Regions from separate parts of the Homo sapiens genome. Here all the other regions are linked to region 3. Evidence: promoter capture Hi-C in 16 types of primary human blood cells and fetal thymus (Javierre and others, 2016). All regions are on one chromosome and are shown on one strand. The core of a region is centred on a gene start or on the middle of the fragment in contact, and the rest is flanking DNA. Distances in the headings are between cores, read along the strand shown. Region 1 has its middle 51 kb from the start of KCNV1. Region 2 overlaps EMC2 (ER membrane protein complex subunit 2). Region 3 holds the start of NUDCD1 (NudC domain containing 1). Region 4 holds the start of EMC2 (ER membrane protein complex subunit 2). Region 5 overlaps TMEM74 (transmembrane protein 74). Region 6 overlaps LOC105375704 (a long non-coding RNA gene).

Evidence for each region. The method cuts DNA at HindIII sites, captures the fragments that hold promoters and counts their contacts. A CHiCAGO score of 5 or more calls a contact.
Region 1: a fragment that was not itself captured here is called in contact with the fragment with the promoter of NUDCD1 in region 3 in 1 of 17 cell types (M1 macrophages); the score reaches 5.1 in M1 macrophages.
Region 2: a contact is called between a fragment that was not itself captured here and the fragment with the promoter of NUDCD1 in region 3, in 2 of 17 cell types (total CD8 T cells and non-activated CD4 T cells). The highest score is 5.8, in total CD8 T cells.
Region 4: the fragment with the promoter of EMC2 here is called in contact with the fragment with the promoter of NUDCD1 in region 3 in 10 of 17 cell types (naive CD4 T cells, total CD8 T cells, non-activated CD4 T cells and 7 more); the score reaches 32.7 in naive CD4 T cells.
Region 5: a contact is called between a fragment that was not itself captured here and the fragment with the promoter of NUDCD1 in region 3, in 1 of 17 cell types (fetal thymus). The highest score is 6.8, in fetal thymus.
Region 6: a fragment that was not itself captured here is called in contact with the fragment with the promoter of NUDCD1 in region 3 in 6 of 17 cell types (total CD4 T cells, naive CD8 T cells, total CD8 T cells and 3 more); the score reaches 8.9 in total CD4 T cells.

The regions. Positions count from the first base shown.
Region 1 is chr8:110,024,070-110,028,495 of GRCh38, forward strand. No RefSeq gene overlaps it. Among named protein-coding and RNA genes, the nearest start is that of KCNV1, 51 kb to the left of the region's middle. The HindIII fragment of the contact is 219 bases long and covers 1,998-2,216 here.
Region 2 is chr8:108,482,626-108,486,726 of GRCh38, forward strand. EMC2 (ER membrane protein complex subunit 2) reads left to right here. Exons shown (of 11, transcript NM_014673.5): 11 at 3,887-4,101. The coding sequence ends at 3,973. Among named protein-coding and RNA genes, the nearest start is that of EMC2, 41 kb to the left of the region's middle. The HindIII fragment of the contact is 170 bases long and covers 2,349-2,518 here.
Region 3 is chr8:109,332,236-109,336,258 of GRCh38, forward strand. NUDCD1 (NudC domain containing 1) reads right to left here and starts at 1,852. Exons shown (of 10, transcript NM_032869.4): 1 at 1,658-1,852. The coding sequence starts at 1,775. ENY2 (ENY2 transcription and export complex 2 subunit) reads left to right here and starts at 2,112. Exons shown (of 5, transcript NM_020189.6): 1 at 2,112-2,239; 2 at 3,893-3,969. The coding sequence starts at 2,234. RefSeq lists enhancers at 1,544-1,593, 1,724-1,773, 1,956-2,878, 2,144-2,393. The HindIII fragment of the contact is 6,990 bases long and covers 572-4,023 here.
Region 4 is chr8:108,441,261-108,445,345 of GRCh38, forward strand. EMC2 (ER membrane protein complex subunit 2) reads left to right here and starts at 2,364. Exons shown (of 11, transcript NM_014673.5): 1 at 2,364-2,438. The coding sequence starts at 2,399. It overlaps LOC105375704 (a long non-coding RNA gene), which reads right to left and starts at 2,212. Exons shown (of 3, transcript XR_928530.4): 1 at 2,110-2,212. RefSeq lists a silencer at 2,198-2,317. The HindIII fragment of the contact is 5,303 bases long and covers 1-2,791 here.
Region 5 is chr8:108,777,634-108,781,688 of GRCh38, forward strand. TMEM74 (transmembrane protein 74) reads right to left here. Exons shown (of 2, transcript NM_153015.3): 2 at 1,341-4,055. Among named protein-coding and RNA genes, the nearest start is that of TMEM74, 7.9 kb to the right of the region's middle. The HindIII fragment of the contact is 292 bases long and covers 1,144-1,435 here.
Region 6 is chr8:108,424,662-108,428,787 of GRCh38, forward strand. All of the region lies in intron 1 of LOC105375704 (a long non-coding RNA gene), which reads right to left. Among named protein-coding and RNA genes, the nearest start is that of EMC2, 17 kb to the right of the region's middle. The HindIII fragment of the contact is 2,140 bases long and covers 1,241-3,380 here.

The DNA.
Region 1 (4,426 bases), core at 857-3,356, 690 kb after region 3:
ACAAGAAAGTTCGCAAACCAAATACTTATAGCTAGCTGCCAACTTAACTTCGAAGGTTTCATCTTCAGTGATGATACTTTTAATGAAATGTCAATGCTTTGTTTAAAACTGGATGCTTGTATCATCAAACCCAATGCTCATTCAAATATTTGACTTGCAAAAGATGTTGGAGGAATTATTTGCAGCCTCAACGAATAATCATGTATTGGAATTTAGCTTGTAATCATTCTATTTTTCTAGTCATTGGTAACCTCTTCCTGGTCTACAAAACACTGAACCAATTTAGGTGAGGTCTGAACTTCTGCTATTTTAGATATAGCCAGAGTCAGGACATGAATTTCTTTGGGAATTATTTTGGAAAATGTTTGCATGCCTTTGAGGAACAGATTTATTTTAAAATTAGGGTAATATGAAGAGTTGTAACCTATTTCTCAAATCCTCCCCCAAATTTTAATTTTTACCCAACATATGAATTCACGTAATTGAAATAGTTATATAAATCTACATGATTAGATACAAAATACAACATTCCCTGCTACACTCTTTTCCTGAAGGTGATTACACTCACCTCATTTTAATGAGGTTTAAGGCATAAGGTCATTGTGTAAAGTGGCTGCTAGGATTCTTTTGTTATTTACAGGTAGACAAGAGTAAAGGATGGTTTCTAACACATGAAAGTGTGGGTAAACAACCCAAGGGGAGACTAGCGTAAAGATTTATTGTGTCCACTCTACAGTTGTTATGCATTTAGGTTCAAATATTTTACTATTATAAATAATGCTATAATATAATATCCTTGTAAAGAAAACATTGCATATTTGTGTATTAATACATCAACGTTTATGATTAATTTCAGAAATTAAATGCCAATTCAAACAGAATGTATGTTTTCCAATTTTATAGAAAGAAAGTTTAGGCCTGTTTATGTTGTCATCAGTAGTGACTGGGTGTGAATGAGAGTGCTTCTCTGCAAAGTCTCCAAAATTAAGTGTTATCAATTTTTTAAGTCTTTGCCTATCTAACTGGTAAATGTATTTTGATAAGGGTAAAATGTATTTCATTTTAATAAAGTTTATATTAGTGATTAAACATTAGGAAGTTTATGTATTTCAATGCTGAAATAGGGTTTCTCAATAGAAAACTATTTAAAGGCAGTCTAACATCCGTTTAGCTTTCTTGCACCCACACACTAGTGGACTCACCCTACCCTTGTTAAGATTACATTTTAAAAGAAAACCATGACTAATTCCTAATTTGAAAAGCTTACACATTAAACATGCAGTCAACCTCTCTTCTTTCACACTCTTACCTTGCTTTGAATCTGTTATATTTGTTGGATATATATAATTCTCATTAATTTGTTCACTCTTTTTAAGACGGAAATTATATCTCATTAATCTTTTTTTTTAATGAAACATTTTATTCTGGATAATTTTTTTTAACTCCTAGTCATTTCTCTATGTCTAGAAGTTTTAACAAATTATTTTTATAGTTAAAGTTGACAGATATTTTGCTTTGTAATTTTTTCTCATTACTTTTATATACAAAAGTGTTTCTATCTACAGATTAGAGAAATTTCACTTGGTTATTTCTTCTAAATTTTAAGTACTACATTGTAATATATAATTTACCTGCAATTTATGTTTTATAATGTATAATGGGAGTATAATGGGATAAAGGTATCTATTTTGCTTTTGATTTTTTACAGATAGTTGTATCAGTATCATTTTTAAAATAATGCATGCATTCTTCATTTGTTTGTTAGGTCTCAGCAACTATAGGTGGTCTTTCCACAGCACTTAGGCAACTCGCAGGAGGGTAAGCAGATTTTAAAAGCAAGCATCCTGAAAGCAAACATTCTAAAAGGCTCAGGTGGAAGCTGCTTGACTTCATAACTTTGGAAGCCAGGTTAAGGAAATCCCAAATCCCACTTTCACTGCCTTCTATAGGCCAAACAAGTCAGTAATGCCAGGCCAGTCATGAAAGGAACCAAATTAAGCTTTATCTCTCAATATGAAGACTAGAAAATAACTTTTGGCCATTTTTAATTTACCAAACCCTGCACTCTTGCCACATATTGTTTACATTTTCCCCCACATTCTGTGAAGGCTCACCCCTTCCCAAGAGCCTCAGAATGGGATGAGATTCTGATTCATCTTTATATCTTCCCTAAACCCAGTGTCTCAACACAATGCTCAATACACTTTCGTTATGTAAGCTTTTTGCCTATATGGCTCAGGAGAGTAGGCTTTTTTCTTTGAGCAGATCTGGATATTTGGCCTGGGCACTATACCTAGCTCTATGTCAGGCAAGAGCTTTTTCTCTGGACCAGTTTTCCTATACATACAACTGGAAAGTTCAACTAGATAACAACTAAAGGTTTTTTTTTTTTTTTTAATCTAAAATCCTATAATACTTTGCCTTTTTATTACAAGTGAACAATTTCTGTTTATATTATAAAATAGAATTTAAATAATGTTGTCTAATTGCAAAGTTTTACCTAACAAATCTACAGAGTATATTTCCTTTCAAATGCAGTTATTACTTACAAAATGGAAGTTTAGTCATCACCTCTCCACAGTGTGTTAGCCCCATCTAGTGAATGATTAATGAATTCTCAAAAGCCAATAGCATATGAACTTTTTTAAAGCTACTGCTGAATCATATGTCATCTTGTTTCTAGACTTGTAGCAGCCTTTGCTATTTCAGATGTAGCCAAGATTGAAAGAGGAATTGATTGTGAGATTAATTTTAAAAATGTTTGTATGCCTTTGTAGAATAGATTTATTTTAAGAATAGGGTTACATAAAGAGCTATAATTTATTTCTCAAATCCTCCCCCACGTTTTAATTTTTACTCAACATTTAAATGCTTGTAGTTGTAATAGTCAAACAATTCTATATGATTAGATACAGAAAACAGAAATCCATGCCACTCTTTTCCCCTAATTTCTTTCCCTAAAGGCAATTACACTCACTTAATTTTAGTTATTTTAATACTTGCTTCTATGCCTGAAATAACATGCTTATTATTACTCCTTGATGTTTTTCAACTTTAAGCCACAGAGAAGAAGAGGAGTTAATGCTTTTTGTTTTCTTTTCTGAGGATATATCATATATGTGAGTAGAAATTTCGATAACTTTCCTTTCCTGCTCACTTTCCCACCACTCCCCAACCGAAACTGTCATGTTTATCATTTGCTTAGTTTTCAATGTGTTTCTCATTAATCCAGTCTCAAATTGGTTATTCACTAAAACCAAGACTGCAGACACCTCAGGTATTCTATTTGTTCCATCTTTCTGAACAAATCTTTCTCAAAACTTTCTCACTTGCTCCAATGCTAGTTTGCCCTCCTTGCCTGGGACACAGCTGTTATCCTGGATTTGCCTGGGAGGTCTTCTCATCTTCTGCCCATGTTGTTGTGTCTCTTGTTTTCTGTATATGTCTTACTGTCTCTAGGTTTAGAGAGATGAAATGTGCCCTCCAGCAACTTCAAGAGAAAGAATACTTGGGAAATATGTTTTTGAGACTTTGCATCATGGGTACAATGACTTGTTATTCAGCATGAATTCCAAATGTCTTTTAGTGTATGGAAAGCTAAAAATCATATTTTCGAGACTTCCACACAGTGGGGTTCTAAAAGTCCTGTAATTTGTACAAATAAGATACACTTACACAAATTTCAAATTTATTAATGAGGAATCACCAAGCTTTGTTGGAAAGCACCACTGTGGACAGGTGTATTTTGATCATGGAGGCTTCCTGAGTGTGGTAACTTTTGAATAGACGAGGAGGTAGTAGTCCTTTGGTGGCCTGGTTTGTTAGCAAAGCTCACAAAGTCATTCCTGAAAGCCCAACATAAAGTCTGTTTCTTCAGTCATTTGATACCCTGCCATACTAGTTAACACTAACTATGGTTGTCTCTGTTTCCTGCACTGAGCCTTGAATGGGATATCTTACAGGTGCAAGTTTGGTTAGATATAGAATTTTAAATTTAAAATAATTTTTGTGTATATATTTTAGTTTTCTTGCTATGAAATATGAAGCCTTACTAGTCCCTCATCCAATGTATGTGACTTTTTTTTCTCCTTTTGTGGAAGCTTAGGTGAGCTGTTCTTTGTCTTTAGTGATTTGAAAATGAAAGATAAGTTCATTGTAGATTCTGGATATTAGCCCTTTGTCAGATGAGTAGATTGCAAAAATTTTCTCCCATTCTGTAGGTTGCCTGTTCACTCTGATGGTAGTTTCTTTTGCTGTGCAGAAGCTCTTTAGTTTAGTTAGATCCCATTTGTCAATTTTAGCTTTTGTTGCCATTGCTTTTGGTGTTTTAGACATGAAGTCCTTGCCCGTGCCTATGTCCTGAATGGTATTGCCTAGGTTTTCTTCTAGGGTTTTTATGGTTTTAGGTCTAATCCATCTTGAATTA
Region 2 (4,101 bases), core at 1,184-3,683, 850 kb before region 3:
CCAGGCTGGAGTGCAGTGGCATGATCATGGCTCACTACACCCTCAACCACCCAGGTTGAGTTATCCTCCTGCCTCAGCCTCCCAACTAGCTGGTACTGTAGACGCATGTCACCGTGCTCGGCTAACTTTTAAATTTTTTGTAGAGATGAGGTCCAGCTGTATTGCACAGGCTGGTCTCAAACTCCTGGCCTCAAGTAATCCTCCTGTCTCAGCCTCCCAATGGAGTGCTAGGATTATAGGTGTGAGCCACCGCATCTGGCCTGGAATTGATTTTTATGTATGATGTGAAATAGGGGGTCCATTGCTCCCCATATGGATATCCAGTGTTTCTGTCCATCTTTGTGTTCCATCATGAGTCCCGTCCATGGAAGCTAGTTCAATGTAGTAAAGAGAAGATTACAGATTTGAACCCATGTTGTCTGGGTTCAAATTTTGACTCTGATATAATTATTAGCTATGCAAACTTGGATAAATTACCTAACATCTCTTGCTGTATCTTTTCTTCTGCAAGATGGCCATAATGAAATATTCTGAGAATTAAAGAAATTAAAACATAAGTTATTATGTTTTTCCTTTTCCCTGTCTCTTCAGTGTGACAAGACCCCCTTGAGGTATATTGAGATATAATTTACATGTAATCAAGTGCATATATTTTAAGTATACAGTCTGAGTTTTGACAAATGTGTACATCCCCTTACCAGCCCCCCACTCAAAATAGCATTTCCATCACCCAAGAAACTTTCCTTCTGCCATTTTGCAGTCAACCTCATCCCCCACTGGGAGACAGACAAGCACTGATCTGATTTTTATCACCAAACATTAGTTTTGCTTGTGCTATAACTTTGTATAAATGAGTTCATAGGTTATGTGCTCTTCTGTGTCTGGCTTCTTTCACTCAGCATGTTTTTGAGATTCATTCATTTACAGTCCATTTCATTTTTCCTATTACTTTGTCTACCCATGTATTTTCCACAAATTATGTAAAGGTAAATTTAAGCCCAAGCAAGGTATCTCAGTTATTACAATGCATGAATCACTGACCTCTGAATTTGATAAGCAAGTTTTTATTGTTTGGTTGTTTTTGTGTTTTTTTCTGGTGAGTTTTCTTATAGATCTTACAGAGAATTATGAAAGATTTACTTAAGCAAAATCTAACTGTATGAAAACAAAAATACAGTATTTGTGAATAATGTAAAAGAGTATATAACTTTCAGAGAATGACATTCTTGATAACTAGGTAAATCTTTGGGATCTCAGTGAGAATTTCTTAATCATATCTAGGAATATAAACCGGTATAGAGTATATAATATTTCGTATGGGATTTTTCTACGTATTTATAAATTAGGGAAAATTAGGTTTCAAGAACTGCTTTTCTTTCTTTGTTTCCACTTAATGATGAAACAGAATATGGCTACTATTTGCTCGTCAATTAGGTAATTGGTTTAGCATGTTCAGTAGAAGCAGACACATTTGATTAATGCACATGAAAAACTTTAATGTGAACCTACTCACAATGATTTTCCAGATAAATCCTTCTTTGTTGCACTGGTAAATCTGTGCTAGTGATTTATATGATATTTATGATTGCAGCAGTGATTCTGTTACTATCCTTTTGGGAAACAGAAAATTAAATCATGATTTGAGGGAAAAAATGATTCTGACTTAATCAGTTAAATTGCCATACAATTCTGGAATAGACAGAATAATTGCATGTCAGATTAAATTTGAAGTGATAGATTTGTATTTCCAACTTTCTTTTATTTGTTCTGACACAAGTAAATTTATTTGGTTTATTCTAAATTGCACTGGTTGTGAGTAATGTTGACACCATCTCAGTTGACTCTTTAAAATTAGCTAATTTTAAAAGATCACACTGTATTATTTTTATGTTTAAGTATAAACCAAGAAAAATACTGTATTTAAAAATACATGTTATGGTTTTAGCTCTACATAATTTTTTTTATTTTTACTTTGCTATTTAAAAGCAATTAGAATAAATGTTACGTGGTAATGTTACTATGTGATGTCCTATTCTGTACCCCTCCCCCAACCCATAAAACTTTTTCTCAGAATTAGACCTTTAAGTATCTGATTAGGACCGTTCCTATTTATGTTTCATAAATGGTGGTAAATGAAAAAGCTTTCTGTTTCTGGTAAATCCTTGTGTAAGTGAATTTATTAACTGGATAACAGAAGTAATAAGCATGCCTCACAGCCTTTAGTCCTCAGGGGAAATTATAAAAAGACAAAATTTTAAATGTGATATTGCTGTTACCATATTTAACATATGAATTCCTTAAATTCGTGATGCCTTTTGAAAGGCAAGGTGATCTTGATTTTTATGAGAAGCTTTTTTTCTTTTTCCTCTGGCATTTCCCCTAGAAACATCCTTTATTTACTTTTTCAAATCAGGATTCAGCTACAGAAACTAATCTAATGGTTTAGAGTGTAGGAAGTGAGGGAATCATAATGTTAAGCTGTAGCCAGAGGGGTCAGAGACAGGTTACCAATTCCTGAAGCTTGTTACTTCTATGATGTTACCTGTGTTTGATCACTTAATCTTTCTGAACAGGTCATGAGAAGTTTGCCAAATTAAGTTAATTACAGAAGACAAGAAACACATCATAAATCAAGTACTAAGTGCTTAAGACAGCATTGTTACTTGAAGAAATGATCATTCACTTGAAAATGTATTGAGTGGTTTGATGTTAACTTGAAAACACTAGATGTTGCTAATACCAAGTATTTTAATCATATTTAACCAGGGAGAAAATGGGTAACATATATATATATAAAATATATACATAATATATAATTAATATATATACATATATATAATATATATAGGTAACATATATATATAAAATATATACATAATATATAATTAATATATATACATATATATAATATATATATGTATATATATATACACACACACACACATACACACACAATAAACTTTCTCCCATCTCCATCAAGGAACACTTACTTATCTAGTAAATCTTTTGTTTTAAATCAGACTGATAAATGATGGGAATTGTCAGTCCAGTTAACAAACTCATTTTGAAATCAGCATGTGGTATTCAACAGTGTTTCCCTCCAGCGGTTATGTGTATGATATTGAATTTAATATGCCATGAATTTGCTTTTAAATACACAAATATAGGGTATATTTTGTGTATATATTGATGTATTTATTTTGTTTTCATAGTAAAATCCAATCCCAATTAGTTTTATAATGTAAATAAATTACAATTAATAAAGTAGAAATGCATATTTTAAAACATGTTTACATTGTTTTAATGTGTAGCATAGGTTTTTACTTGACAGCTCTTTGCAGAACCATATCATTTAGTTAACTAATAAATCTGGAAACTTAAAAAAAATTATGAGCTACTTTAAATAATTTTAGAGAGTACTTGCAACTTTAAAATGTTTAGTGAAATAACTTGTATTTGTATTGTACCTTTGTTTGAAATTGTAAAAATCTGTTTAGACATCAGACAAGTGGAAGTGGTTCACACTGCTACACTACATAAATATAAGCTAAATTGCATTTTAAAATTATACTTTTTATTTCATTATTTTGGTCTGAATAAGATAGTTTCAAATACATGATTTTATGGGTTATTATATTATGTAAACACTTAAACTGGCCAAGTGTGCAGTGAACTCTCTGTACACTTCAGCTGAAGGTAAGACCTTAAAGGAAAATGTCCTTAATACTCAAATTTTATTCTTATTGAAAAAGCAAAGAATATATTTGATTTCCTACTAGTGATAAAATAGTCAATGTTAAGTTTCATTAACAGTGTGAAGATTGTCATTTTTAACCTGCCACTGAAATTGAGCCTAATTGAGCTTTTTTTTTTTTTTTTTAATTAGTTTGCAGGTCGAAGTAAGAAGGAAACCAAATATTCTCTTAAGGCTGTCGAAGACATGTTGGAAACATTGCAGATCACCCAGTCTTAAGGTTTCAAAAACTCTTTGACATTAGATTTCACAACTGCACAATTGAACTTATTGGCCTGTAACTTATTTACTAAATGCTCAGTGCTATTTATATACTACAGTAATTTTCTGTTAAGAAGGCAGTTGTA
Region 3 (4,023 bases), core at 602-3,101:
TGAAGGCAGGAAGGCTAGTCAGGAGGCTACTAGAGTTCAGGTAAGAGATAACTCTGATTTGGATTAGGGTGGAGGCCTAGAGATATCAAAATGTGGAGCTGACCGGACTTGCTACCAAGCAGACAGTGGCTAAAAGAAATAAACCCCAAATGACTCTGGCACAAGTGTCTCTTGGTACCAACCTGGGCTAGTCTAGTCGGCTAAAGGATAAGAGACCACACGGAGAAAAGTCAAGAGGAGACCATGTGAAAGAATCTTAAACAAGCTTATAGTCTGAGACCCTACCCCCACCCTCCAAACATATGAGGAAGTCCAGCCAAATGAGCAGAGCTTCCCAGCAGATCCATTACTGAACAAGGATGCATCAATGAGCCCAACTAGGACTAGAAGAACCACTCAGCTGACCCGTAGACTTGTGAGCAATAATAACTGCTTCTTGTTTTGAGACACTGAATTTTGGCTTCACTTTCTAATGCACTAACTAAACATGGTGATACCATCTACTGACATGGGGTGACTGGAAGAAACACGGTGGCAAAGAGGAAAAGGAAAAAAATAAAAAGAAAAATCAAGCTTATCCTCTCTCATCCTAGTCAACTCTTAACCTACCCTTCAAAGCTCAACTTAGATATTAACTCCTCCAAGACGCCTTCCCAGATCCCCAGACTAGTTTAGGAAAGATATTCAAGTACTACCATTGTATTTTGTACATATCCCTATCACTGCCTTCCCATATTGTTTTACAATTATCTGTTTACAATTTTCTTCCTAACTAGCTAATAGTCCTCTTTTGTTACGGAAGGTGTCTTGTTCATTTTGATATTATCAGGACGTAACACAAAACAGGTACTCGGTAAATATTTCTGAATTTAATAAATCAATTAGCATAAACTTATTTTATACTTTAATGTCTGTTATTATAATTAACTGTAGATCACTATTTCTCAAAGTGTGATCTCTGAAAACATGCATCAGAATCAGCAGGGGTGTGAATTTTAAAATGCAGATCTCTGGGCTCTATCATAACGAAAATGCCGTTAAGTTGTAAAAACAAGAGTAAGGATATTCTACCAGCTACAGATAAAGCAAGGAGTAGCAGTGTGGGAGTAAATCCACTTTTCCTCACTATCTTCTAGAGATGTTCTCTACCAGAGTTCTTAATGTGCCAGGAACTGAGTAATTAAAAATGCTATGACTGGAATGTAGTTTCTCTTCTAAGAAACGGCTCTCGGTCAGAGGAAACAGGAACTGGGGGTCCTCCAAGGAGGTGTGGTTTCTCAACGCACACGTTCACAAGCGATGCTCCAGGAGGAAGGAATGTTCTCAGCGTCCCCCGAAACAGAAGCCAGGCTGTGGACACACAGCAGCCAGAGCCCCAGGCACTACCCGCACGCCAGCCCTCAGACCTCAGACCTCAGAGGCTGGGCTGCTGACGGAGGGGGCCCAGGGTCCCGTTACCGAAGAGCGCGCGAAGGCGGCTCCCACCGGGTTCTGGGATGGGCATCATTCCCCAGAAGCAGCGGCCTCCGTGAGTCCACGCAAGCCGCCACGGTGGCTTCGCTTGCCAGTCAGAAAGAAAGAAATTGCGGGAAGGGTCAGGCCGGAGGCAGCCGAAAGGGGAAAGGAACGGAGTACGAAGGGCGCCGCCGCTTCCCACCTGCGTCAAGCTCCAGCTGGTAACAAGGCAGCGGCTCAAGAGAGAGCTTGTAACCCTCGAAGCGGGGATCCAACAGAGGTCTCTTCACCCGTAGGGAGCAATTAGCCGCCACCTCCATCGCTTTCCAGGGCCGCAGCGTGAGAATTAATAAAGCCCTTGTTGAAAGGTCCGCGCTTCACGCCTCGCACAGAGACTGGGAAGCGGCGTGGTTCCCATCCCAGAAAACACTGCGGTGCGAACTGCCTTCTGGGAAATGTAGTGTCCGTGAAAAAGTTGAGACTGTTGCATGCTGGGCTATGTAGTTCTCCTGGTACTTAACGCGCGCGCGACGGCAAGGTCTGAACTCTGTTACCCAGAGGCCCTAGCAACCAGGAGGCGGCCCGCGCTGGTTAAATTCTCACATTATAGGCAGGGTGGCGAGACCCCGCCCCGGAAATGCGTGTTCTAGCTTTCTGTGTGCTTAGGTGCCCGAGCTACTGAGGGTCTAAGTCCGGGCAGCCGAAGAGTGTGGTAGGTAACGGTCCTCAGCGCAAGGGTCATTTCGTCGCTGGGAAGGGACGGCCCTCGCCCGCGGTGATGGTGGTGAGCTATGCCCGTGGTCCTCAGGGCCGGGACCCGGGCCCAGCCCAGGCTCCTTTCGATGTACTGTCTTTCGTTAGCGTCCCCGACCCGCGCTCGCGGGCCTGTAGGGCTCTCCGACAGGGCGTGCTACCGGAGTTGGCCTGAAACCAGTCCTCGCTTTGTTTTCTGGCTCCTCCTCTCCCGCCTCTCCCGCTGTCTCCGCCCTGTTCTATTTTCCCTAAGAATGTCTGAACTGGGAGGGATACCCTAGCGCCCTTGTTTTACCAGTGAGAAAACTGAGGCCTTTAAGAATTAAGTGACTTGTCCAAGGTCACTATCCGTATTTTAGGAGCCAAGACGAGATCAAGTTCAATATTCCAGGAGTGGTACTGACTAGACCTTGTAGTTATTTTGAAAATGTTAGCCTCCAATTACAAAAGCAAGCATTTCCTAGTTCTCACTCAACTTCTCCTTTTCCCTGTTCCTCTCAAAAAAGAAAAAAAAAATCAACTCTGGTAACTCATTGCCAGTCTGAATTTTCAATAGGCCAGATGGAAGACAACAAAAGTAATCTCAAGTTAGTGACAGATTAGGTGGGAAAACGTTAGTTTACGCCAAGTTTTATTTAATTTAAACTTTTAAGTGGCTTTAACGCTTTCAAAACCTAACTTTCCTCTTCTTTCAACATCATTTTGGTTTGGGTTGTCTGTTTTTACTGACAATTGAGGACTTTGTAAGTTAGGAATTAGTTTGAGATTTGTTTTCTTCTTATCCCACCAGCAGTGTGTGTGTAAACACACACATCCACACACTTAGGTTTAGCAGTTGTAATTGTGGGTTCATCCTAGTGAAGAGTAAAGCAAAACACTTAGAGCCTTATCTAGTAATTTTATTTTTTTTGATTAATTAATTTTTTTTTTTTTTTTTGAGACAGAGTCTTGCCCTGTCACCCAGGCTGGAGTGCAGCAGCGCAATGTCGGCTCACTGCAACCTCTGTCTCCTGGGTTCAAGCGATTCTCCTGCCTCAGCCTCCTGAGTAGCTGGGATTACAGACACCTGCCACCAAGCCCAGCTTATTTTTCTATTTTTAGTAGAGACGGGGTTTCACCATCTTGGTCAGGCTGGTCTTGAACTCCTGACCTCGTGATCCACCTGCCTGGGCCTCCCAAAGTGCTGGGATTACAGGTGTGACCCACTGTGCCCGGCCTGGTAATTTTATTTTTTTACTAATAGTATTTAATCTTTTTTTGATGTTTAGTATGTATGACTTCTCCCAATTTTTGGATGCAGTCTCTGCAGAAGTGATCGGCAGTTATGTTCAGTTTTGGAGCTCCTAGGGTCAAAGTACTTGAGTTCAAATTTTGCCTTTCCACTTTCTATCTCTGTGCCTCAGTTTCCTCATCAGTAAAATACAGATTATTTTATTAATATAAATATGTAACAATACGTTCTGGGAATTAAATGTGATGTTTAAAAAAAAGCAAACCCACACTGCATTAGCCCAGTGCCAAGCACATAAGTGTTTAATAAAGAGTAATGATATTATTAACACACTTGAAATGTATCACCCCTTCAGTTAATAGAATGGTAAACATGTTAGGATGCCTGCCTAGAGGATTTAGCAGAAAATGCTTTGTAAATGTTCTATATCTGAAAGTACATGTTGATGTCCAGGTTAGCAAGATGAACAAAGATGCGCAGATGAGAGCAGCGATTAACCAAAAGTTGATAGAAACTGGAGAAAGAGAACGGTAAGTAATAGATTGTGTTAATAAATTACATTTCACCGCCTTTAATAGTTAGCT
Region 4 (4,085 bases), core at 1,114-3,613, 890 kb before region 3:
ACCATGGTAAAGTGTTTGAAGTACATTTTTATTGCCATGGGGAGCCATTTGAGGCCTATTGCCAAGGGACTTCTGCAGTCTGATTTTTTTTTTAAGACCAGTAGGGTTGTTGTATAAAAAAACAGATTTTACACAGCAAGAATGAAACAAAGGTGGCTAGGAAACTATCACAATCATTCAGAAGAGACGTAGTTGTGGCTTAGATTAAGGTAATAGCAATAGATATGAAAAGTAGATGAACTTTGGGAAGTGCAATATAGAATTTGCTGATAGACTAGATATGGGAGGTGGTGCCAAAAAAAGGAATCAAAGGTACTTCCTGTAATTTTAACTTGTGCAATTAGGTAAATGGTTTCCTCACCTATGACAGGGAAAAACAAGGTGGGAATGCGGAAGGTGACAGCAGGAATCCGCAGTTCTGTGTGGGATATGTTAACTTTGAGATGCGTATCAGCTAGCTATCTGAGTACGTCAAGCAACCAGACTGGGTTTTGGGAAGGTTTATCAGTTTGGGACTGATCAGCATATAAACAGTATTTCTAGACATAGGATGGTACCTCCATGAGAGTGCCACGCAGGGGCTTTAGCTGCAGCATCTGTTTTTATCTTGATTAACAACACAAGGTAGCTATTTTCTTTTTACACACATATTATTAGATTTTTATATATGAGCCTTTTTGATGTTTAGAGAGAAATAAGCTGAAAGTCACCCAGCTACTGAAAGGTAGAGCCTGGATTCAGATCTGGGAGTTCTTGTTCTTCCTATTGCACCAGGTTGCTTTACTGGAGCATTAAAATATGTGAATTTCTGAGTATTTTTTAACTTTTTGAATGAAAGATTTTTAAAAAGTCTGTTTAGAAAGAATGCCAGCTCATTCAGAATTGAATCCAAGTATATACATTCACTAGTCTTCTCTGTTGTTAAGTGACTTCTCTGGGGTCTATGGTTTGATGGTTTTTTTCCTTTTTTTAAACAAACAAACAAAAAAACCTCTGCGGTTGACTGGAGCCGACAGGTGAGGAATGGAGAGATGTTGGTCAAATAGTACAAACTTTTGGTTGTAAGATGAATATGTTCTGGAGATCGAATGTACAGCATGGTGACTACAGTTATAATTCTGTATTGTATACTTTGAAGTTTGCTGAGAGATTTTTAAGTGTTCTCAACACACACACACACACACACACACAGGAAATATGTACGGTGATAGATGTGTTAATTAGCTTGCTTGTGGTAATCATTTCACAGTGTATATTTACATCTAATCATTACTTTGTATACCTTAAATATACACAATTTTTGTCCATTACACCTCAATAAAGCTGAGAAAAAAAACCCTCCACTCTTTTGACTTGTGGGATAGTATTATTTCTACTTCTCAAATCAACTGCCCCTTCTTTACTGACCAATAACTTTCGGCTGCATTGCAGTGATTTTTAGTTTTTTCTCAGCTTACATATTTCCTCTACAATCTCATGTCCCCATTGCTTCAAATACTAAATATACGCTTATCATCCTCAAATTTTTTACTTCCTGTCCAGACATTTCTCCTTAAGTCTAGGAGATGACGTCCAAAGTTTCCTAAAAGCAATTAGTCTGGTGGGAAAGGAGGCTCCCCCATCCACCCAGGAGTAATGAGGAGCGAAGTTCAGGAACTGTGAAGGTCTCATTCGTACATTCATTCCTTATAAGTACTTACATACTCGCGACAGTTTGAAACCTAGTGTGGCATGCAGACATGGATGAAGCAATGACAGGCACGACGAGCGTTAATGAAGGGTATAAGCTAGCGCGAGGGCATTCAAGGGAACTTCAGAGCGCAAAGGAAGAATCCCACTTAGTCTCTCAAAACTTTGGAGTTTATCCGTTTAGTCGATTAAAAAGTGAACGGAAAGCAAATCCCATTACGGAAGGAGGAAAGTTGGGGACAAATAAGGGATTCGTGCAGAAGGCTGCACTGCGGCCGGCCATGAAGAGAATAAGGGTACTTAAGGGAGTGTGAAGAGAATGAACAAGCCTAGGTAGAAAAAACTGAAAAGCCAGGATTGACGGACACTAAAAACCCAGCATTTGTTAAAAATCCACGTCAACACACACACACACCTCACCCCGAGCCAGCACCGTAGCCCCGCCAGCAGCCAGGGTATCCTGAGATTGCGGGAGCGCCACGCACCGCCCACCTAGCTCCGTCCACCGTCCAGCTCGCTCCGCCCAGCTCGCTCCGCCCCCTTCCCCGAAAGCCCCTCCGCAGAGCCGCGTGCACGTGCGTGGCGGATACCGCCCCCTCTGCTCTCTTGGCCAATGAGAAAAAGCTACGTAACTCTCCACCGCCCGGTGGCGGGTCACGTGACTGCGTCTCCCCGCCCTCTCACCCCGCTGCCTCTAGGTTCTGGGAAGATGGCGAAGGTCTCAGAGCTTTACGATGTCACTTGGGAAGGTAACTTCGGGTGGGGGCGGGTGCGGAAAGACTAAAAGCGCTGGGAAGCCGTTCGGGAGTACCCGCTGCTTTCGGGGAGCTGGGTTCTCTGGTGTCTTTTTGGTACCAGAGCCCTCACTGTACGGGCCAAGCTGAGGTGGAGGCTGAGGCTGACCCTTCCCTTGGCCCGGACGCGTACTCTGCAGCGTTTCCCACGGTGTCTGCTCCTCGGTTGACCTGCCCTCCTCCGCGCCAGTCCAGCGTCCCGGGGCCGCTTTTATTTATGAGGCGGGCGGGAGGGACTTGGGGCTGGGGTTGTCGCACGCTAACTGGTTGCTGGGCGGTGCGGAAGAGGCGGAATAGGTGGTTACTGAAGCTTCTTTGGAGCCAAGAAACACAGGGCCTGTAAGGCCCTTTACTAAGTGGTGTGTAAGGATTACAGCTCTGTGCAGAAAAGCTGTGTAAAAGATGCGTGAACAAATGTGATTCTCATATGCCACTCTACATTTAGTTTTCTTCTTAAACCCGGGTTTCCAGTTTCTTTTCCTTTTAGTCTAGTCTCTGTCCCACTCCTTCTCAAAACACATTTACACACACAACACAACTTCTTTCTTACTCCCTACTAGTAGTTTCTTTTCTGAAGGGAAAAATAACTAATTAACTCTGGGCTACGTAAGTGCTTACGTGTGATGGTCACTTTTCCCTATCCTTAGTTGATCTAGAGTGGGATATGTTCTTTAAATCTGGGAACAGCCAAACCTTGGATCAATTCTGTGTGCTTAAGAAACTTGAGTTTCATTAAGGCGTGGAATTTGTGTAATTGGAATTCATATTCCCAGCATTTAACATAATACAGGAGACTTCAGTAGCTAATTTGCTTAACGAATGCCTTCTTGGGATGTTTTAATAATGACCTGAAAACATGTGGACCGAAAGTTGTATTTTCTGTTTTATCGTGAATAAATATATCAGTTATTATAAAGTTGTAAATCCGTTACAAATAAAGCAAAATTTCTTTGTACTTGAACTGAATTAAATGATTTATTGACTTTATGGCCTCTAGCACGTTGTGAATCTCAGTATTTATACCTGAATTGAGGGATTCCATTATATTAAACAACAGTGTTGATTTCTTACTGCAAAATCTTGGCTCTGTCAACACACAGTCCCCACTTCCAAGGAAGTCACAATCTAATGGAGAAAACAAACCTGTAAACACACAGTTTTAAAAGGCTTGTGTCAGGGTATCTTCCGTAAGCTGAGTCGTAGATAAATGGATGTTATTTTTAATGCTTTTTAAAAAATGTTTTAAATATTACATAATTTTTAGAAAATGCTATTATGAAGGTATGTTCATTATAGGTTTCCTAGATGATAGTAGCATATATAAAATCCTGAGGGACGAGTAGCTGTATACTACCAACAGACAAGGTGATTTAACTGAGTAATTGGACCTTACCCTGTGGTCATTCTAAAGAGGATTGATGTAATTAATTTGGAATAATAAATAATAACTACTACACAAATTTGTAGGAACAAAGAAAACATTTTAAAGTGCTTTGTAAACTGTTAAGTACTATATAAAAGGATGTGTTACTATTAGCTAGTGCTAATATGATTATGTCCTTCCTCTGTATGATCTGGCGGTTGCCCATGTCTCCAGCTTTA
Region 5 (4,055 bases), core at 40-2,539, 560 kb before region 3:
TTTTATAAGGGTCATATTCCTTCTAAACTTAATATATAATTTTAGTGAAGGAGTCCCAGATTTTAATTCTTTTCCTACCGCTTATTAGTTATATAACTTTGGCCAGTTATTTGACATTCTCCAGCTTTAGTTTTTCATTTGTAAAATGCAGATAACACTTGCCTTGCAGAGATGCTGTGAGAATTAAATGAGGTGAGGTATAAATTAAATAATACATAGTAAGAACCCAAGAAAGTAAGCACTTCCTCCTGTCCATGAGTTGAAAGGACAAATGTTGGCTTAATCTCCTTTTTTATGATTAAATAATACAATAAAATCATATAGGTAATATATTAAAGTATAATTGTGACAATTTTTTTTTAAGCATTTAATAAAGATCTACTAAATTTGCCTTCTCTGGAGACCTTTAGCATTTTTGGCCCCCAGTATAAATGTATTAATATTAAATTGATCAAGTGATCATTAGAGAAGATGAGAATATTTATGTTCATTGATACATACTCTGCTTGAACAAAACAAAGACCTTAGAAATTCTGGTAGTCATTAGTGTCATTTGCCAAACAGTCCCAATTCTCCTCATTTCAGGGCTCATGATGGAACTGCATTTCCTGGCTTAAGTGGGACTATATGACTAGTCCTGACTAAATACATGTTGACCTGGTGCAGTGTCTCTTTGAGACCTTTCAGACTCTTTTCCCCTCTAGCTTGGCAACCAGGGACATGTAAAAAGGTGGCTGCATCAGACTGGGTCCCCTTGACTGCTGACCTGCAAGGGTCATATAGCGAGAGACTGTGGAAATGTAACAGCATCACTTAGCTTATTCCGAATGATCAGAGGTGGTTAACAAAAGCCAAAAGAACTTCTAGAAAAAAACAGATATCGAAAGAAGTAGACTTTCTTCCTATAAAGGATGTAGATAAGAATCTTGATCCAATTTTTATTCAAAATAGATGGAGCAAGATATGGGGCCTCACTTCCAAATGTCTCTTTAGAGTTTTTGACCTTGACAGCACTTATATATAATAAGGATAAAATTCCAGTTAATAATATAAATTGTGATACATTCTTCAAATGAAAATGGAGATCAAAATTAGATTAAAAGCAGGTGCATAAGTTAATTTGATACTTGTTTCTCACCTAAAAGCTTTCTAGACACTCAGATAAGTGTTTTTAAAAAATATTTATTCATGTATTTTTCCATATCATAAAATGTGTACTCTAATACTGAGTAATTTAGAGAAACCCAAATAACTTGGACTATTTCCTATAAAACAACAAAAAATAAGGCACAGTCTACATTATATAGTGAAATGGTAGCAAGAAGAATGACAAACCTAAATTAGGGGTAAATATTCATTTTAATTTTTTTGGACAAATAATTTCAAATATAATTTTAAAAGACCAAATCAGCATTACAGATTCCAATTTAAATTAAGCTTAATAAACACAATAAAGCCTTTGAATAGTTTTATTTTAAAATGATATGACACACTTGCTATTAACATATAAGGCATCAAGTGCCCTAAGAAAGAGCTCATAACCTTAATAATTGCCCTTGAAAATATCAAAAAGCACATAATCAATGTCAAATTATTTTTGTTTGGCAAGAAAAGTAAAATTAACAGCACGATGAGAACCACAGGGTACAAACTCTCAATACACAATATGTAATAATTAATCTTTCTTTCTTATATGACATTTGTTTGGAGCCTGGCTAGGAAGCCTGAAGATGGCAGTGAAAAAATAGGGAGAGCTGTTCCTGAAACACAGGAGAGTTACCCAAATTTGAAACAAAGGAATATACTCCCCATAGTCCCCTGAAATAAAATAACAATTCACGGTAAAATAATTTCCAAATATCTCACACTCTCATGAGCCTGAAATTGAGAGGTTAAAAAACAAATTAATAAATATTTGTGGGAGGCTGAACAACCAAAACAGGTTTATAATAATTATGGCATCTCATTCTGAGGCTGATTCCAAATTCTTCATTCATGACTTGTGAAAGACTTCTCTTCTTCTTAATGTCAATAGTAAGGCATGCCAAATTCCTATAATAAAATTATTCTAACAATAACTTTGGATATTAAAGCTGTATAACTATAAAATATAGTCCAAATGCACATAGACTTGAGTGCACATAAATCTGCACACAAACATAAACCACGAGTACACTCTTGAGTGTAAGCCACAGATTCTTGAAATTAGTTTTATGTGTTTAAAATAACGTCTTGCTTTTTACAGTGTCAATTCACTAGGCAGGCAAATTATTTCCCAAGACTTATAAAATTTGTGAGATGATAATATAGAATATTATGAACCAAAAACAGATATAGCTAAAAATCAGCCAAAAGGAAATGATATGTTAATTCTCTTTCTTAAGTACTCTTTTTAGACTAGGAAAAGCCAGTAAGACTTCATTATAATCTTCTCATCGTAGTCATTCTTTATGTCCAATTCTGGGAAAGGTTAAACCCATTACAGAGAACAGTAAGTATTGATAGTATTACATCTTGCTGTAATAGGTGAACCACTGGCAAAGGTTGTGAATCTTTTTTGTCAGACCACGTTTTTTTGATGGCATTAATTGCTGCAATGAAATCTGACCTTCAGGTTGAAAAACCTTCTCCTAAGAGATATACATATAGAACACTTTTTTAACTTGACAATTAATCCAAGTAAAATTTTGCATACACCTATCATTGCACACGTGAAAGATGAAGACCAAAATGTTCACATGCTCCTGCCTAGAATTTTTGCTTGTCAGAAGGTGGTAAAAAAAAATAGAGCCATTGGGTTCAGGCTTTTAATTCTCAATATTTAACTAGCATGGTGCTCAGTCACTCATTTATCAAGATTAAGTCACCCCTTATACTGGGGGGACTGAGGTAAAGGCACACATAAGTTTGGCAGCGCAGTCTCTTTTCAGAAATTGTACCTTGAAGGGCATGTGCCAGCACTGGTCCAATTGGGTCCCTAAAACAAATAAGTATGAGGGGGATGAACTCATATTTTAAGCAGACAGCAAAGCATGTGATGATATCAAGGCAAGTAACTTGATAGAACAGAATCAAGGGTTATAGCAGTCATGTGGGTAAAAGCAACCATGGCCTCCAAGAACTTCATGGTTCCAAGCAGTCTTGTCTTCCTGTAAACTATAAATCACCTACACAGTGGGGAGCATGACGAAAAGCTGTTCTTTATATGAGGGGCCAGTACATCTTATTATGTGATCTGCTTTAAGAGCTCCCAATGGGTGGGAAGGACACACAGCGCTGCAAAGAAAACTCTTTGCAAACTCTACCACTAACAGTTTAAGGTGCCCTAAAAAGAACTGGCTTATAAAGATATTAGGAGCCTTAAATCATCCACCAGCAGCGTGTAGATCCCAGTAATAAAGGAGAAAGACAGCTTTCTTTCTGTAACTCACCCCATTGGGCCACACTGCTGAAAGACGAGCTGTCTTCTCATTGAGACTAGGAAGATGACTCTTGAGTTTAGATTTCTAAAACCATGTAAATAAGCTAAAGACCTAGAACCACTGAAATATGTTTTTCTTCTCTAGGACTAGCAATAAAAACTTTCACAGGTAACAACCAGCACCATATTGAAGAGACAGACGGAAGGTCACAAATCTCCATGAAGGATGCAAGACCAAAACTATAGGTATTGTATGCCCAATGTCTATAGAATGCATCACCTGGTCTTGCCAAAGTACCTCTAGAGCCAAAAACACTCTTTGTCAGATTGGGAAAAACAGGAAATAAAGCACATGGCTTTTCTTTGCCTGTGTTACCATCATTTTAAATTCAAGTAATCTTCATATTGAATTCAGGCAGGATGGATAAGGGCTACATAAACCAAATACCCAGGGAAAAGTCGATTAAGGCAAGTATCTGAATAATGTCACCACAGCCCAAAAGAAGTCATTCAGATGATTTTCAAAATCATGTAATGTGTAATGGTTTGCCCTCAGATAAGTAGAACCTTAAAAGAGAGGTGCTCTATATGTTAGCAGATTTAAATAATGTTGAAGTGTGCATTTACTTACCAC
Region 6 (4,126 bases), core at 1,061-3,560, 910 kb before region 3:
CTGCCTCAGCCTCCCGAGCAGCTGGGACTACAGGCGCCTGCCACCACGCCTGGCTAATTTTTTTGTATTTTTAGTAGAGACGGGGTTTCACCGTGTTTGGCAGGATGGTCTCGAACTCCTGACCTTGTGATCCGCCTGTCTTGGCCTCCCCCTCTTCTGTATTTTCATATGGTGTTACCTCTGTCTGTGCTGTCTGTATTCTAAGCTGCTCTTCTGGTAAGGACACCAATCATACTGGATTAGGGCCAACATGAACCAACTCATTTGAACTTAACCATCTCTTTAAAGGCCCTATGTCTAAATATAGACATATTGTGAGGTACTGAGGGTTAGGACTTTAACATATGAGTTTGGGGGGGACACAGTTCAGCCCATAAATAGGACAGTATAGTTAGTAATAGGGAAAATGCATGACTTGGAAAAGGCCTTAATTACTTTTCTTTACGTAGTCATAGTATTTTAATTAAATAGTAGCTCCATCAAATTAATCCCTTGAAATTCATTTTATTACAATAATTAGAATGTTCATTCTTTATCATTTTAAACAGAATCATCACTCTGTGTTCTTTGAAAAACCAAAAATGGTGGGATAGATTACACATTGCTTTATAATTTACAAGGAGCTTTCCTATTTTTATTCTTTTTTGAGTCTAGCAACCCTGTGAAATTGGTACTAATAAAAATTTAGAAAAATATGGCTAGGTCTAAAACTTTTGTCTTCCTATTCTTCACTCGAATGGCCACTTAAAAGGTCTCCCTGTGTTGTCCAGGCTGGTCTTGAACTCCTGAGCTCAAGTGATCCCTCTGCTTTGGCTTCCCAAAGTGCTGGGATTACAGGCATGAGCCACCAAACCCAGCCTAATTTAATGTTTTATTTTACTTTATCTCTAATTGTGATTGCTTTAGTTTAAATTTTCAGTTTAAATTATGCTATACATAAAAAAGAGAACAGCAGATGGAAATTTATGTGCATCAGAATTTGGGAGACTCAAAAAATCAGCATAAATTGTAAGGGATTTTCAAGAAGACTGACTTAGGCCTAAGCTCATCATTGCACAATGCTTTTTCAAGTACTGTAAACATGGCTGCCTGCATCTATAAAAGGTGGCAGAAGCAGGGTGAAATTAAGGAAAAAGGATAGGCTTATTTTGTAAATAGGACTAAGCTACCTTTCTGACTACTTACATTAGCACATAGTTTATAATCAGACTTTCCTCAGACTCCAATAAAGTTATTTTAAAGCTTTACACAATGTATAAAACTTCAGATGACTCCCAGGAGGATAGTGACTATGGTAAACTAAAATTCTGTACTCACTTTTAATGCTGCAATTAAGGGTAGAGCCACATTTCATAGGATCAGTGGCAAACACATGATATTCCTTCTCCTCTTCTGGGGATGTCCCCAGAGATCCATCACTCAGCTTGATCAAATTAACTGAATCATTGTTCCACTCATTGAGCCAGTGTGTTCACTGCCTAAAAATTCATAACTGTGCCAGCTGTGGCTATCACTATTATGGTGTGTTTTTTCCTGCTGGCTAATCCCATGCTTTTCAGTGAGCAAAACTATAAGATATTGTAATTGAGTTTCTCTTCAATTTAGGAAAATTCTTCATGCTGATTTTTTCATGTTGAAATCACTAAAGTACTATACCTTGGGGATAAATTCATGACCTGGCAAGAATAAGGAACAGAAGCATCTTTAAGAAGGGAATCTAAATTTATACTTCATGAAGTAAGGAAGAAACGTCTGGTTAAACCTGCCTCTATTTCCTCATCCTCCTGAAGCCACCCCCCAAAAAAATTAATAAGTTTACCAATCTTTTTCTATTTCCAGAAAATAATCCATCAATATTGGTAAAATTAATTTTTAAGAAAAAATGCATTTTATCTTGGGACAGCATGTGCCACTGACTTAATTATATTCTTCTTCCTCTACCCCCTTTGTTTTTTTTGGTCTTATATAGTGTATTAGTTTGTTTGGGCAGATGTAACAAAACACCACACACCAGATGGCTTAGATGGAATAAATTCATTTTCTCCCAACTCTGAATACTAGAAACAAGGAATAAAAAAAATATATATAACAAAAATGAAGAAAAAGAAAGACGATGAGAAATTTCAACAAAATTCTGGAGATAGAAAGCTGATGGAGAGTAGTGCCCAGTAAAGGAAGCTATAACCCAGTGCCTATATAGAAAGTTATCTACAAGATATATCCTTCCTTTCCTTTTTCTTTTTAGTCTTATTTGCCCTCCAGACACCCAGAAAGGTTTAAGACATGGAGGCACAAGGTGTTGGGATGTTGGTAGTGAAGTTTGCTGAAAACAAGGAGAATGGTTGAAAGTGGCTAGGTGCCCAGATTTTGTTTCCTGTCTCACAACCCTAAGCTAACTGATTTCTTCCCTGTTTTCTTCTGACTTTTCACTCTGCAGGATACCAATGTCTTAACCTCTAGTTGAATTATTAGGTATGAGAAGCTCTGGAACAGGGGCACTGGTCAGAGTGAAGTATGAGCAGGGAAAAGGGACTGAAGCCAAAGGGATTAAGTCCAAGTTTTCCTAGTGATTATTGGAACACCAGCCCCATTCCTCTACATTGCTCCTGGAACACAAGCACTAAGAGAGAATGTGATGGTTAATACCGAGGTGTCAACTTGATTGGATTGAAGGACGCAAAGTATTGATCCTGGTTGTGCCTGTGAGGGTGTTGCCAAAGGAGATTAACATTTGAGTGAGTGGGCTGGGAAAGGCAGACCCACCCTTCTTAACCTGGGTGGGCACCATCTAATCAGCTGCCAGCGTGGCTAGAATATAAGCAGGCAGAAAAACGTGAAAAGACTAGACTGATCTAGTCTCCTAGTCTACATCTTTCTCCTGTGCTTGATGCTTCCTGTCCTCGAACATCGGACTCCAGGTTTTTCAGTTTTGGGACTCAAACTGGCTCTCCTTGTTCCTCAGCTTGCAGATAGCCTATTGTGGGACCTTATGATCCTGTGAGTTAATATGTAATAAGCTCTCCTTTATAAATATATCTATCCTATTAGTTCTGTCCCTCTAGAAAACCCTGACTAATACAGAGAAGAAGACAATTCTTCTCTGAGGAACCAAATGACCCCCAAAGAAAAGATCTATTCAAATTGATGCTTGGGAGATACTATTTTTTTAAGCAGCTTAATTACCAATCATTATACAGTTGAGGCACCGTGTTCGCAAACATATAGAGCTTCCATACAGCATTTCAGAGTCTTACACTTAAATATGAAATAGCTAAGTATCATAAGACATTTAAGGAAAGTCTTCAATATGAAATACAGACAACTACTGCAAGCATAAAACAACAACAGCATGCTATAAAAACAGAACAGAGAACAAGGAAAGCTTTTGGAAATAAAAAATAGGATAGCCAAAAAAGTAAGTAAATAAATCAATAGGAGATTTAGAAGAGAATGTGAAAAAATTTCCCAGATAGTAGAACAAAACGTAAAAGAGATGGAAAACAAGAGACAGAGAGTAAAGAACTCAGACAATCTAACAAAAAAACCAGCTTTCAAACAAGAAAATGAGGGAGTGAAATCATCAAAGGAATTACACAAGAAAATTTCCTAGAACTAAAATGTCTAGAAAATAGTATAGATTATACAGTGATGGGCTGGAAGAAATATATTAGATTCTAAAATGCAAGATACTTGAACTAGCATGTTAGCCCCATTAAAATATCATAAATATGCATTTCTTGAAAATTGTCATTTCCTTCTAAAGCTGAAAACAATTTTAAATTACAATTATGTTAAATGACACTCATATCTCAGCTTTCCCGCCTAAGGACATTAAGGGAAAAATTCCAAAAAGAAGAGTGGGAGGAAAAACCCTGTGTCTTAGCAGGGTTTATCAGCAGGGATTTTATTGGTTAAAGAGGTTTCATTTTAGGTTATATGTGGCAAAAGACATGAAACAGGAGTGTTTACAATTTCATTTCATTCCAAGTCTTCGTAGAAAAGATAGTTTAGAGTAGGTAAATGCTTATTTTATAAGGGTAGGAAACCATCTGGGCTTTCTGGATATCTGGCTGAAAATTCAAGACAACTGTCTTTAGATTTTACAAATATAAAGTAGGTGGATTAA